3 separate regions of the Homo sapiens genome follow, and all the other regions are linked to region 1. The links are contacts of gene promoters, found by promoter capture Hi-C in blood cells and fetal thymus (Javierre and others, 2016). All regions are on one chromosome and are shown on one strand. The core of a region is centred on a gene start or on the middle of the fragment in contact, and the rest is flanking DNA. Distances in the headings are between cores, read along the strand shown.

Region 1 (4,877 bases), core at 715-3,214:
TTGCAAAATGAATAATAGTTGAGGGAAGGGAGAAAATATCACCAACCAAAGATAACAATTACCATTTTAGTACATATTTTTATTTTATTTTTTAAAGTACTCCATTAGATTTATATACAGCCTCTTTCCTTTAGCATAAAACATACATTTTCCTATGCCATTAAAAAGTTTTATACTTATTTTTCTATTGCATGAATAATATCCCATTGTCCTATATCACATATCAGCATTTACATAACCTAACATAGACATTCAAGTTGTTTCCAAATATTAGAATATATATATTATAAATAAAGTTGTATCCCAGAGCTGCATAAAACTCTTTCAGACTTTAGTTTATTTCCTCAGTATAGATGTCCAGAGGCAGGAACACTAGGCCAAAAGATTTATGTTTTAAGGCTCTTGATATTTTTAAGCAGCATAATTTTTTTTGTATTTCCTGTAAAATATGTAAGAGTCTTCATTTCCAATTTATGGATGAGGAATTTCAGAAAGGAAAATAAATGCCCTATGTACATGAAACCAAGTAAACTAATGGAAAAATGAGAAAGAAATATTCAAACAGGTTTTTGATATCACAGAGATCCTGGACTCTGTAAGTATCTGAAATTGAACTGAAGATAAGGAACAAGCTGAGGTCACACAATTATTGTGGGACAAAAATTGGAGTGGGTTTCTATGTTATGTGAGAGCAAGTTCATTGCAAGATTTCTTTAACCATGAAGCAAAAGAGGAAATACCAATTATAACCACATATACTTCATGAGATATGCTAAATGAGCAAAATAATGATTTGCATATGAACAAGGGAAAAACACACTTTATATGGAAACTATACACACACACATACACACACACAGATTTCAATAGAATGTATTTAGAGAACTTATGATTCATTAAGAGTAGGGAGAGACCACAAAAATGGGCAAATGACATTAATGGGCAATTTATAAAATGATAAAATTAGTAATAAAATATTTACTCTTATAAATCAACAAAATACAAAGGAAGTCAACAATGTGTATTTTTTACTTGTCAATTTGCCAAACACTTAAAAAGTGCTTTCATACACTGTTATTGGAAGTGTAGACTGATGTAATCTTTCTAGAGGGTAATTGGGCAATGTGTAGCAAGATCCTTACATTTTCCTCAGTTACTGACCCAGTAATTCCACTTCTTAGAGAAATAATTAAAGATTTGCAAAAAGCAAAAAAAATTATGTAGCTGGTTGCTCATCACAGCATTATTTGTAAAAATGAAAAAGCAGGAATTGACTAAATGACAGAATATTATTAGCAATTTCAACTGTTTTAAATAAATTGCTAATGCCATAGGAAAATTTCTGTAATACAATTTAAGTGAAATATTTCAGAAATAGTGCTGCATACATAATCAGGTAGCTATCTGAAAACATTAATAGTACTTATCTCTAGGTGAAATTATTTGGTCATTTTAACATTTTTCTTAATAATTAGGATAATGTGATTTACCAAATGAGATACTATGAAAATGAAGGATATAGAATTTGTATTACAATTTTCTTTTTCCAATCACAAAACATGACATGTCTATTTGTATATCTCATGCATTGTGTTAGGAAATGTTTGCTAGATATTTATTCATTTATTCAAGGATTATTAGAGGATTATGATTATTCAGTGATAAATTTCAGTGGTCTTTATTATTCTCATCTCATGGTGGTATATATGAGTAGCAAGGAAGGAGAAGCCAGCTGCATTGGTCTTAAAAAGAAACCATTCAATTTAGACAATCTAAATTATAATAATCAGTTCCTCTTCCCACTTTACACTCACCTATCATATCCCAGCCCTCCAGGAACCAGCATCCCCAAAAGATAAAGGGTTTCAAGCAGAGGCTTCATTCTGCCACACAGTAAGTTAGAAAATTCTGGGCCTCTCTGGCAGTGGATCAAGTGTCCTTGAGAATGAATGCATCAAGACTGTGGCTCCCACAATCAAGATGAGATAAATCAGTTAGTGGATGTCTCAGCAGAAAGTCACGGGCAATTGCTTTATTAACTCTCTCATGTCCTCAAACACCTTTTCCAGTGTGGGAAATGCTGTACCATTTGATATTTCATTTCTTCTCTAAAACCAAATTTACGTGAGCTCTCAACTTCACCAGATCCTGAAATAAATTTCCTCCCTATGTAAAGTCACCTTGGAGTATTTCTAGGAACCCCCATCACTCGTGCTCAGGAGCAATCATTCCTGCTCTTCCCCTCACACAGGTTGAATGGGAATAGTAGGCTAGTCTTTGTGAATCATGAGCCTGTTCATGAGACCAGAAAGAACACTCTGCTCTGGTCAAAATGGACATGGTCATTATTCAGAATCTCCACTTCCTCCTTCAATCTAAGGCTTTGATTGGGGTCAAATGCCTTCTCTTTTTCTGATGAACCACATCACCAGCTTCTTAAACAAACCCAGATCTCTTCAAATCTGAGCAGTGAAGACAGTTTCAATCCTTTCCCATGTGGATTTTACCCCACGCCCCTCTTACATGAAGGACTCTGTCAGATACTCCGCCATGTTTTCAGACATAGCCAAGTTATGCTTGAATCTCATTGACCAGTAAAATTAAAGACTCATGTTAAGACCATTGCTAATAGTCTAACTGAGCAAGGCAAACTTTAGCGCAGAGCAGGTAGAGTATTTAAATGGAGTCCTTGGCATTTAGGGACCCAGTTTAAATCTTCTGCCCTGTATTCATGTATTCATTCTACAAAAATCTCATGAGTACCACTGTATACCAGACACTATGCTAGATACTTAAGATACAAGGGTGAACAAGGCAGAGTCCCTTCTTTTATGGAACTCACAGTAGAGTTGAGAGAAAAATAAACGAGTATACAAACAAATGTTACAGTTTCAAGTAAAGAGAATGCAGTTAAAAAACTAGAGGAGATAAGCGCTTCCATGCTGTCTCCAGGCATGCCATCCACCCAGTCCCTCCATGTGTTTAGCAACCCAGAGGCTCTCCAAACTCTGTTCCCTTGTGTTTTTATGAAGACTTCATTACATAGGTATGATTGATCATATCATTGGTCATTGGTGATTAAATAAATCTCCAGTCCCTCTTTCCTCCCCAGAGATGGGAGGGGATTACTGAATAACATGGCTGATTCTCCTGGCAACCAGCCGCTATCCTTAGAAACTTTCCAAAAGTTACCTGTTCACTTAAACTTAGACATAGTCAAAAGGGACGTCATGAATAACAAAAATGGCCCTTTCACCTTTATTGATCTTATCACTGAGGAAATTCCAAGGGTTTTAGGAGCTCTGTGTCAGGAACCAGGGACAAAGACAAAATATGTATTTCCTATTGTATCACAATATCACGATGGTGTTTAAAGCCACTGGGCTAGAGGAGTTCATCTAGGGTGTGGGTATAGACAGAGAAAGACAAAGACTGAGACCTGGGCTGACCTAACATTTAGAGGACTTGGTAGAAGAGAAGAATCCAGCGAGGGAATTGTGAAGAACAGCCAGTGAGGTAGTTAAAAAATGGGTGACTATTGTGTCCCAGAAGCCAAATGAGGAAAGCATTAAAAACAAAAAAAATGGGAGTTACCCACTGGTCAAACGAGGACGAAGAACTAACCAATCATAACCAGCAGGATAGAGGCTCCTGGAGACCTTGAAAAGAGCAATTTCAGTAGATAACGTGGTGGGGACAAACGCCTGCCTGGAGCTGGTTAAAGAAGGAAAGGGAAGTGAGAAAGTGGAGGCGGTGAGTATAGAAAACTCAGCATAGCTTGCCTACGATAATGGCACCTTAAAGAAAACTGCATTGTTAGCATTTTGCATCCTTCCCTTGGGATTTAGTTAATTCAAAAATCCTGAATTTGAATTTTGCTGTTCAGAATGAGGGGTAAAATGCAACACTCATGCCACTCTCTTCCTCACCCAAGTGAGGGGACTGGCAGGAACCTTGGTAGTACTAATTTTGGAGCAAGGGTTCTAATGGTGCTGTCAGTTCCACAGAAAGAGAGGGGGACCTGGAAGTTAAGGGTGTCATCTTTCCATACTCTTGCTAATTGGAATGGGCTGAGATGGATTCATGGCAAAGGGACGTATGGGTAGTCTAAATAAAAAGAAAGACTGCAAAAGGCTTCCCCTGCTACCAATATGTAGTTCCATACAGTTATTCTGAAACAAAAGAATATAAATAAAAGTTTAAAAACACATAAAAATGTAGTCAAATAATACACACAAATTGTTAGTAAAAACCTGCAAATAATTTTTTAAATGTGTTGTGAGGACATTTGATATTACTACACAGGATTTTCTTAACTGTCACTGATAATTGGATTTTCCTCAATCCCCACGTCCAATTTCACTGTAATATGTGGTCTCCTGCCAACCCCCCTGGCCAAAGATTATCTTTCTGTAACCTTATGGAATGCAAGCAGTAACCCAGGGAACTCAGGGCCAATGAAGTGGAACCATGGGCTCCTCACTAACAAGGGTGAATTATTATCACATCTTTCCTGGTGATTAGATTATTTCTTATCGTTGTGTTTTATAGCTTTCTAGTTAGTCATCTCCACACAATTTATTCACAATAATAGTGTTTTATTATTGCTGTTTTATAGTTCCTATAACAGTAAAATTTGTTCTCAACTCTATTATTACAATATTCAACTACTAATGGATATTCTTATTTTTATTTGATTGTGTTTTAAAGCCATAACAATAAAATTTACTCCCAAAAATATTACTGCAAGTTTTATGCTCTTTAAACTACTTGATAGAATGCCTGCAAACACATGTGGTCCTTTAAGCCACATGAGAGAAAGCCTGCCAACACATAAACATTGTTCTAGGGGAAAAAGGGGGGGGAATTGGTTTCAA
Region 2 (4,924 bases), core at 627-3,126, 520 kb before region 1:
GGTGTAATTTAGTTTTAGCTCATTCTCTCTCTTGGTCTCATTCCCCGGGTGCCCACATCTCTGGCCAAGGGCTTTAGGACTATTCTCATGGGAGAAGAACCACAAATATTAGGAGAAGTTTAAAGTTTTGGAATACTGTTATTATATGAGTTCATAGTATGCTGTTATTTCATTCTATATGTGTGAGGGTTAATGGTCTGTCTTTAATGTATTTTGTTGTCTACCTTTTGTGACTTTTTATAGGTATTACTTTTACATAAACCAGATGTGGGAAGTTACAAATTTACTCACATAAGGAGAGGTACACATTGATACCTTTCCACATTAAAAATGCAAATGTTTTTAGTTTCCGAGGAGCTCAATATACTAGGGCCCACAATTCCAGAAAGGCCACAGAACTGGCCACGTTCTTACCATTATTATTTTGGGGGAGGGGCAGAAACTTTCTTTTTTGTTTTCTTTGGGAATGCATTTCTGATTTATAACAGAAATGAGTGGGAAAACCGGATTCATTTGACTAAAAAATAGAAGTGATTCCCAACTTGGCCAGATCATATTTGAAGTATTTTATAACATGCAAATACTTTATATATTATTCACAAATACATGCAATTGTAAATATTCCATCTAATTAATGTACAATAGGCACTTTTCATATGAAGAGTTTAAAGACATGGCTGCTAGAGACGAGTATGAACATATTTTGAGAGAATTTGTAAAACAGTTTAAAATCTAATCTGTCTTCACCTTGCTTGTCTCAAGTTTGAATTTTGTTTTTATTCTCGTTTGATTTGTGGTTTGTTGATATATTGAACGCTCTTGCTATTATCAGCATTTCATTGCTTCTTTATAAATGGATTAAAATGGAAATTTCTCCCAATTTCCAGTCTTTTGTGTTTTTTTTGGTTTGATTGTTTTTTGTTTATTTTTTAAATCAATTCAAATTCATGACTGGGATAATTGTAAAGTTTTTCTTAACTTCTAGGGTAATTTAACAAGAAACTTTAAGAATAAAAATATGTATTAATGGCAATTAATCTGTCAGTTTTGAGATCTGCTTAACTGCTTTTGATTCCTCAAGCTTGTAGGGGTGAAATGTATAATGAATGCCCTTCCTTACCCCTCATAAGAGTCATGGCCTGCACTCCTACAACAAGAGGCAGGTTAAAGCGTAACAAATTTATTTAAAGTTTTACATTACATAGGAGCCTCAGAAATGAAGACCAAAGACCCAGGAAAAATGATCTATTTGTATGCTTATGTTTGATGAAGAATGGACAGCCATATAGAAATGTGTTGGACAAAAAGGGTACGATTGAATGATAGTAGACTGCAGGGGAAAACCCAGCAAGGCCTGTCTGTTCAGAGTCTTCTTGGCCTCTCTGTGTAGCATTCTTTCCTCCTGGGTGTGGGACAGGACCCCTCTGGAATGAGGGTCTTCAAGGAAGAAGGGCAAAGGGAGAGAATGACCTTTCTAGGTTTTTTGGCTTGCTTTGGGGGATAGGGGTTCTAGTTTCTATGGCCCGCCTTGGGGAAGAGAAATTTTGGTTTCTATGCCTCACTTCAGGGGAGAAAGAGAGGTGAGAGACAGGAGGGCGGGGAAAAGGTCATAGAGATCATGCTTCCGAGGCTTTCTGATATTTTCTAGATCAAAGTACTCAGCTTGCCAAAGTGCCATACTTTGAGATTTCATTTTCTGAGCCCCGATAGTCCCCTGTCTGAAACTTCCTCAAGAAGTTTCACATCCAGAAATTGGTTTGGTGGATTCTCATTAGCTATTGAACCAGACCTCTCAGTCCTAAGCTCAGTCGAGTTAAACAGTTAGCAGTTGTCTCACTTCAGGCAGAGGTGTTGCAAATGGGCTTCCACTAAAGTTAGGCACTAATGCAGTGCAAACAATCAGATATGTAACAAGAGGCATTTCTATGGAAACAATAATAACAACAAAAATAAGTGTAATGGTTAGAACAAACTATAAACTCAGTTTTTAATTCTAGAGGGCAGCCAGTCAAGATTTCTAGATGCTGGACTTAAAGCCTTTCCAGCTGGAGCAGGGGCAGGCAGTGATGATCTGACAGATTTTCCTTGTTTACAAAAGTTTGCTTCAGGTGTTCCAGTGAGCTTTCTGAGTAGTCCATATAGCAGCAGGCCCGAAGGTTATCTCTACATAGCTGTTGTAGTGATTTCTCTGAAGTCTGTATCAAGCCATCTAATTTCACCTTGCAGGGCTTCAGAAAAAGGGGTGCTTTAATTTTTAGTGATTCCAAGCCAGAAGACTGGGATAAAAATTGGAAATATTCGTTTGGTGAGTCATAGCCAGATATTGGAAGAAACTAGAGAAATTCAGGATCCAGCACAGATTTCAGGTGGATAACAAACTCTCAAAAACAATGAGCTAGCATCTAATACTGGGTGCACTATACTTTTCTTCTGAAACAAAATTTTTCTCTCTATAGTCACCTTCATCTCTATCAAAGATAATCAAAGTAAAACTAATTTGTTTGCAAAATAAATTTAGTTTCATTAAACTTGACCTGATTATTTATACAAGTTCAGCAAGAGTAGTGATTGGCCACATAGGCTGTCTTTAAATTTGCTTTGCTGGAACGTTTTATAAGGAATCTCAGATTAGACATTGAAAAGCCTCTTGAGGCCAGGAGGCCAAGCTTAAGATTCACCATTAAAATTCACCTGAAGTGGCTGGGCATGGTGGCTCATGCCTGTAATCTCAGCACTTTGGGAGGCTGAGGCGGGCGGATCACAAGGTCAGGAGTTTGAGACCAGCCTGGCCAACATGGTGAAACCCCGTCTCTACTAAAAATACAAAAATTAGCTGGGCGTGGTGGCGGGCGCCTGTAATCCCAGCTACTCGGGAGGCTGAGGCAGGAGAATTGCTTGAACCTGGGAGGCGGAGCTTGCAGTGAGCCGAGACTGTGCCATTGCACTCCAGCCTGGGGGAGAAGAGCGAGACTTCGTCTCAAAAAAAAAAAAGAAAAAAAAAATTCACCTGAAGTACTTCTAGATTTTGCTGAATTCCTCTCTGCTTTAGGTCCCCAAAATATCCTGAGGTTCCTGGTCCTGCCAGGAGGTGACATTCTTTACCTACCTCTAAGGCAACCATATGAACGATGCTTTCAAAGTACCAGGCCAGTTTATCCAAGCGCGGGCTTTATTGGCTCCATAAAGTCAACCTTAGTTCTTTAAAGTTGTCTGTCATATTTGAAAATAGAATATTCCAGTCAAAGCCTTGGTAAGGTAACATAACCAGTATTTCCAATTGTGCCCTGTTACAAGGAGAACAGATTTTTATTAAACTAGTATAAATAATTATATTGCCATAAAAATAAGAATACTCACAAATAGTTTCTGAGTCCTAGCAGGATCAGGTAGGAAGAAAAAGTAATTGTTCCAATTCTGTTCACAAAAGTATATGCTACCAGATCTCTGCAAGCTCTAGAAAGCTTAAGAGAAATAGTTTCTTTAAATCTGTAAAAGGAAACATTTACAATAAGAACCAAATTTCAAATTTAAAAATTTCAAATTAAAAGTCATGAAAACATTACCTTCATCAGTTCAGTTTCACGTAATTAATTCTTGATCTGCTTGATCTTGCTTGGCAGTTTCATGAAGCCATTCATTTCTTCATTAGAGTTCTGAAAATTCTCACACAGTCCAATGGTATGATCTTATGGTTATTAGAAACCTGTATTCAAGGGTATTTGTCAAAGTCTTTTCTATGAATCTTTTCGAAGAAAAGCAGTTTTGGACTATCGCTGATTGCCAATACTTTTAGACAAAAATCAAAACAGTAATGGCCTGTAGATGACAAAGACTTAATATGGCCATGGTTAAAAATCTGATGAGAGTTCATTATAGTCAGCAGTTGACAAGGAAATTTAGTTATTTCTGTGGATACAACATTTTAACATAATTGCCAGAATTGTTACTGATAACATTAGACTTTTAAAAATCTCACATTTTCATATCAATAATACGCTCCTAAGTATAACTCTAGGTTTAGCATTACTCATTATTTGACCACACTTACTATATAATTTAATGCATCAAATATATGTAAGCCCAATTATTTTAATATCTTTCTTTTACAAGGTGAGAAAAACACATATTTTGTAGCTTTCAAGAGGCCTAACTGGTAAATCTCAAAGTAAGTTCAAGGTCAAAAAGACTTAATTTAGAATTTGATTTTGGGAAGTATGTCAAAATGTCAAAAGGTTTAAAAAAATTAAATATGATATTGGCTATCTAATTAAAGTGACAGTTTTAAATAGAAAAACAATTTTCTATTTTTTTTAACATTTTTTTAGAGACAGGGTCTCACTCTGTCACCCAGGCTGGAGTGTAGTGGCACAAGCATAGCTCACTGCAGCCTCAAACTCCTGGCTTAAAGCAATCCTCTCACCTTGGCCTTCTGAGTAGCTGGGACTGCAGGCATGCGCCACTGCACCTGGCTCATTTATTTTTATTTTTATTTTTGTAGAGATGGAGTTTTGCAGTATTTCCCAGGCTGGTCTTGAACTCCTGGGCTAAAGCAGTCCTCCTGCCTTGTCCTCCCAAAGCACTGGGATTACAGGTGAGCCACTGCACCTGGCCGACAACAAAAGATTTTAAAGGCAAATACAAAAGGTTGCATAGTTGTGAATAAAATGTAATCAAAGACCTAATAAAATACAGCATGAAGCCCAAAAATGATCTTGATAAAACACAAAATCTTTGTTTTCTAGGTCAGTTACTGAAAAGGAGAAAAAAAAAACCTTCACATTCTCAGACCAATACTTCTAGAAAACTTTGTTACTTTAACAGAGAAGACCAAATTCCACTTTTGCATTAGCGTACTATTAATACTAAAGCTAATTTTAAATAAAATCTTTTAATAAATTCATCCAATCTTAGTTTTGATCACAAA
Region 3 (4,822 bases), core at 2,294-4,793, 540 kb before region 1:
GCGTGTTTTTTTTTTTTTTTTTTTTTTTTTTTTGCCAGTTTAGCACCAGACACTGAGCAAGCCTCCTGGTCCTTGAAGTTACAAAAAATGAATGACATTTTCTGATCTCAAGTTGCTCAGTGTGTAGTCAGGAAGATGTGAAATGAGGAAACCGCACGTGGGAAGAATGTTCATCCCAGGAGGTCAGGCAGGAGCTAGACCCACACTGGGCTGATGCCCACACTGAACTGAGTAGGGTTCCTCCTAGGAATTGGTCAACTTTTTAGGCAATGACACAAGAAAAAATGCCTAGAAGCCAGATCATGAAGCAGGTTGTATGAAGTCATAAGGAGGGCCCCTCCCCCTGCCCTCAATAGGTGATTCGAGAAGTTACAAAGCACAGAGGGACAGAAGAAATGAGCGATGAAGGTTGACTCTTTATTCTTCTCTCACATTTGTTTCCATCTCTACTACCCCTGCAGATTGGGGCCTCCATAGCACAAGGGTTATAGTTGGGGAAGAGGAGGAAAGAGGAGAGACAGGAGAAAGAAATTCTAGGTAGTGACAGTGGAGAGGAAAGGGGAGTTTTAGGAACCCACTGGCTGGTGCAGTCATTTGTATTTAAGAGATGTATGTAATTTAAGCTTCTAAAAGCCAGAGACTGCCCTAGAAAATAAATTTCCCATGCTATGCAGCAATTCATCAGTACCAAACTTCATCTCCTAGTTATTTATGAGTTTGCATAACTTGAGTAAGTGCCAGGCAAGTTTTTCTGAGTTTGATTCTTCATTTAGTATGTTTATTTTTGAATATTTTCTAAAGTAACTTTTAACCAAGTTAAAAGTTAGATCCTCACACTGAAAGGTGAAGAGTATTAATGTTTGGGAGTAAATAAAACAGTCATTCCAATAACTCCCAACTGAAACAAACTTTTCTCTCAATTATGAGGCAATTAAGCAAAGTGAGGTGGTGTTTTGACGTGAGATATATGAATAACTGAGACTGTAAAGCTAGCAGATGGCATATCAACATATCAAGTTTGTGAGGTAGTTCTGTGAAGTGAAAAAATATGTACAGTTCCAAAAAATATTGAGGTTGACCTAAATACGTTTGCTTATGCTATATGAGTACAAGGCTAACTATGCAACGTTGTTTAAGTGATGACTAGGATACTATTTAAACATCTGAGAGAACAAGTTGATTCCTTTAGCAATTTTTTTTTGAGCAGTCATTTCAATAAGTGCCTTAGAAGTTATATGAAGACTTGATTTCAACTCTAAGAATAAACTACATAATGTTTCAAATCTAATATTATCTAGAAGATCCCAGATGTCATGATACAGTTTAGTTTTGGAACAAGAAATAGTAATTAAAATCAACTAGAAAGTCTAGTGGGAGATCATTCAAAAACTTCATATGCGAGAAACTTTTAAGAGGCAAATAATATGAACAGTGATTTCATCAAAAAGGTGTAAAAAATAAACAGATGGGGACCTTGAAGAAAAAAATGTTATAAAATATCTACTGTTTTTCTTCCAAATAATTTCCAAAAATAATCAAACCTGTAAGAGTTATATAATGTGTAATTAGTAATTATTGTATCTCCTTGAGTTTCTTTCCCCTTTAAAAATATCTCTGCCTGTGGCTGTATATACAGAATTAGAAGAATTTTACTGGCTTCTCAAAACCAGTAAGGGGCGAGGGAGGACAGACCAGATAAGCAGTCATCAGCAATTGCGGTTAGGTTCAGCTGCATGGAAGAGAAACCTGGCTTCCTAGGCTTATACGAGGAAGGTGGATATTTTCCTCATGTGACATGAACCCAGAGCAGGGCAGTCCAGGGCAGGTGCTGGTATCTATGAAGGTCACTTAGGACCTGGGCTCCTTCCTGCTTCTCCACAGTCATCCTGGCTGGAAACTCAGCCATGTGTTTATGCCAGGCAAGAAGAAGTAGAGAGGCAGAGACCTGCAGAGCTGGTGCCTTTTTCAAAAGCTTTCCTGGCAGCTCCACCCTGTGATTTTTTGCTTACATTTAATCAGCCAGCACTAATTCCATGGCCTCCTCTAACCATCAGGGAATAATCCAGGTCAGGGCAGGGTTTTTAAACCGAGTACCTTGCCACCCCAAATGGATTTGAGTTCTCTTGATAAGAAAAAAAGGGAGAATACTTTTATTTTTGATTTTGAAGGTATTTATGTTATCCTGTTTGCCATCAAAAGGAAGTCAGAATTAATCTAGTTCTGTTACGATCTTTCATTTCCTGCTGTATATTATAGTACGTGGTAGACATTCAACAAATGTGGTTGATTGATGAATGGATTCATTTAACCAGTAATTATCAATCATACTACATGTCAGTGTTCTATGATATTTAAAAAGAAATATATATTCCTATCCTTGAGGGATTTATAGTTGCAATTTCAGACATTCATATATATGAAATGATTAGAGAACAATCCAACTGATAAAAAGAGCACAATTCTTCATCTGTGTTTTGCTTTCTATTGTTCGTGCTATTATTGTACTGCTACACTGGATTTGGTTCCAGGACTATTTTCATCAAATTATTTGGTTAAATATGCCCAGTGGTGCAGAAAAACAATGGAGGCATTAGATACTTGGGTTTTCATAGCATCAGGGTTGTGGATGGTCATACAGCTTTTGTGCTTCTCATTTTCTCTCTATAAAACATGCCATAGCAATGGCCATCCAGCATAGGCATTGGATAGACAAGGGGAGATGAAGACAATTAGGAGCATGCCTGGGCTCTGAAGTCAGGCTTCCTGGATTCCTCTTCCAGGTCTGCCATTTACTAGTGTAACCAAGGGTGTGTGTCCTACTTTCCCCATCCAACAAGTGGGGCAATAACTGTACAAACTACAGGGGCTGATGTGAAGCTTGTGCTAACATATGAAAAGTATTTAGAAAGAGCTTGGCATGTAGTAAACACTCAATAAAAGTTAGCTACTATTATGTAGTGTTTTCCAATGGTTTATTTAGAAGCAAAATAGTATCAGTCTAGAAGTCCAGGCTTGTTTTTCTCCCAAACATGTTTTCACAAGTGCTTCCATGGTCTCCTTCTCCTTTTCTTCTTCCTCTTCCTCTAAAAACATATTTTGCTGTGTCTGCTTGGTCATCTTTCACTGGGCCAGAGAAAGAATCCCTGAGGGTTGGACAAGGGGAGCAGCTGAGTTGGTGAGAAAAGGAGCCCAGCAGGTTGAATGCCTCGAACCACTGTGATGAGCTCTTGAGCTGGGTGCCAATCAAAGTGAAGCAGTGGGGCTTGCCAGGTGAGATGTTAATTTCAGCGGTCACACGTGTCCCTGTCTGGACTCTCCCTAGGACTCTTGACCCTACCCTGCAGTGGTTTGAAATGGATTTTATTAGGCTTTCATTACATTCTCATATCATTTTTTTCACTTGGTATCTAAGCTACACGAGAGCCAGTATAGTGCTTTGTCCTTGGCTAATACTCTACCCAGACCTCTCCTGAGTGTCCAGCTCTCTCTCTCTGCTGCACCAAATCTAGAGTGAGGTCAGGGGCTTAGAAACTCAACTCAACTTGTTAATCAATGAAGCGGTGAGGCTATTTTGTCCCTTTCTTAAACTTCTTTCTAAAGCAGAATTATAAATAGGATACTCTGTGACCTATGGGTCAAAAAGGGAACAATCGGGCAAATGATTTTTGATTGTAATATCTATTATGACCATAATATATTAATAATGAATGTCAAGGATTTGGCTCGAAGACAATAAAAGCAAAGGTGCCACATATGTGCTCTCTTTCTCCCTTTCTACAGTACTGATTTCATAACTTATCTTTAGGTAGAGTGGAAATTAGATTTTAAAAAGTGAGTAAAAGTTTTCACCCGAAAAAGTAATTTGTTAATTTTTATCTTGAATAACTCCTTGACTGATGAAACTCCATTTTGTCTTATACTGTTTGCAAACAAAAAAGAAACAATAATCCACACTAATAAGCACATCTGAGAATGCCTTTAAAACCCCTTTATTTGCCTAATTGGAGAAATTTTCTGGAATGATTGTCAATGGAAAACAGTTACAGCATTTGTGTCTAAATATATCTTCTTGCTTTTGTTCTACTTCCACCTGAGTGTTTTTAAAATTCTTATGTAGAGTTGATCTTCCTTTGTTAAGGATACTAGTTTTCAGAGTAAGGTTTTTTTTTTAAGAAAATCATTTAAAACATTTATACTACCCTAAGCTTCCACAGTTCTTGTTGAGAGTATTTTTCTCTTTGAATTTCAAGGGAGTGATGTCTTGTTGGCATGTTTGATGTTGTGGATGTGGGTTTCACTTTATTCGAGCAAAGCATTTAGAAAGCTCCAAGAATTTCTCTCATCTTCCTGGGTTGAGGGAAATGTAAACAGTGACAAACAGTTCTTCAAACTCTCCCTGATTTTTTTTCTTGTGGTGTTACTTTCCACAGAGTTCAAACACATGGGCTTTTAAGAAGAGATAATAATCTCATTTGACAGTAAGCAATAGTTATTATGACGCAGATTAGTCAGTATTTTGTGAAATATCAAATAATCAAGTAGTTTGGATCTGCTAGACCCCTCCCATTTCAATCATTATGCATGAAGTTGATGACCTTCATCCTTGTGACCCCACAAAGATCTTTATGACACTTATGTGTGAACTTAGAGCATTTTTCTACTCAACCGCAGCGCTGCTAACTCTGTTTGGGACGGAGGAGCTGCCTGTGCATTATAGGCTATTTAACAGCATCCATGGCCTCTCCCTATTAGATGCTAGTAGGACCCCTTCCTCTAGTGTGACAATAAACGGTGTATTCTGACATGGCCAAATGTCCCCGGG

Evidence for each region. The method cuts DNA at HindIII sites, captures the fragments that hold promoters and counts their contacts. A CHiCAGO score of 5 or more calls a contact.
Region 2: a contact is called between a fragment that was not itself captured here and the fragment with the promoter of CPO in region 1, in 2 of 17 cell types (fetal thymus and erythroblasts). The highest score is 6.0, in fetal thymus.
Region 3: a contact is called between a fragment that was not itself captured here and the fragment with the promoter of CPO in region 1, in 7 of 17 cell types (M1 macrophages, erythroblasts, naive CD4 T cells and 4 more). The highest score is 6.8, in M1 macrophages.

The regions. Positions count from the first base shown.
Region 1 is chr2:206,936,605-206,941,481 of GRCh38, reverse strand. It overlaps CPO (carboxypeptidase O), which reads right to left and starts at 1,964. Exons shown (of 9, transcript NM_173077.3): 1 at 1,815-1,964. The coding sequence starts at 1,882. The HindIII fragment of the contact is 5,939 bases long and covers 1-4,877 here.
Region 2 is chr2:207,456,985-207,461,908 of GRCh38, reverse strand. No RefSeq gene overlaps it. Among named protein-coding and RNA genes, the nearest start is that of CREB1, 71 kb to the left of the region's middle. RefSeq lists an enhancer at 1,371-1,420. The HindIII fragment of the contact is 1,585 bases long and covers 1,084-2,668 here.
Region 3 is chr2:207,479,124-207,483,945 of GRCh38, reverse strand. No RefSeq gene overlaps it. Among named protein-coding and RNA genes, the nearest start is that of CREB1, 48 kb to the left of the region's middle. The HindIII fragment of the contact is 1,328 bases long and covers 2,880-4,207 here.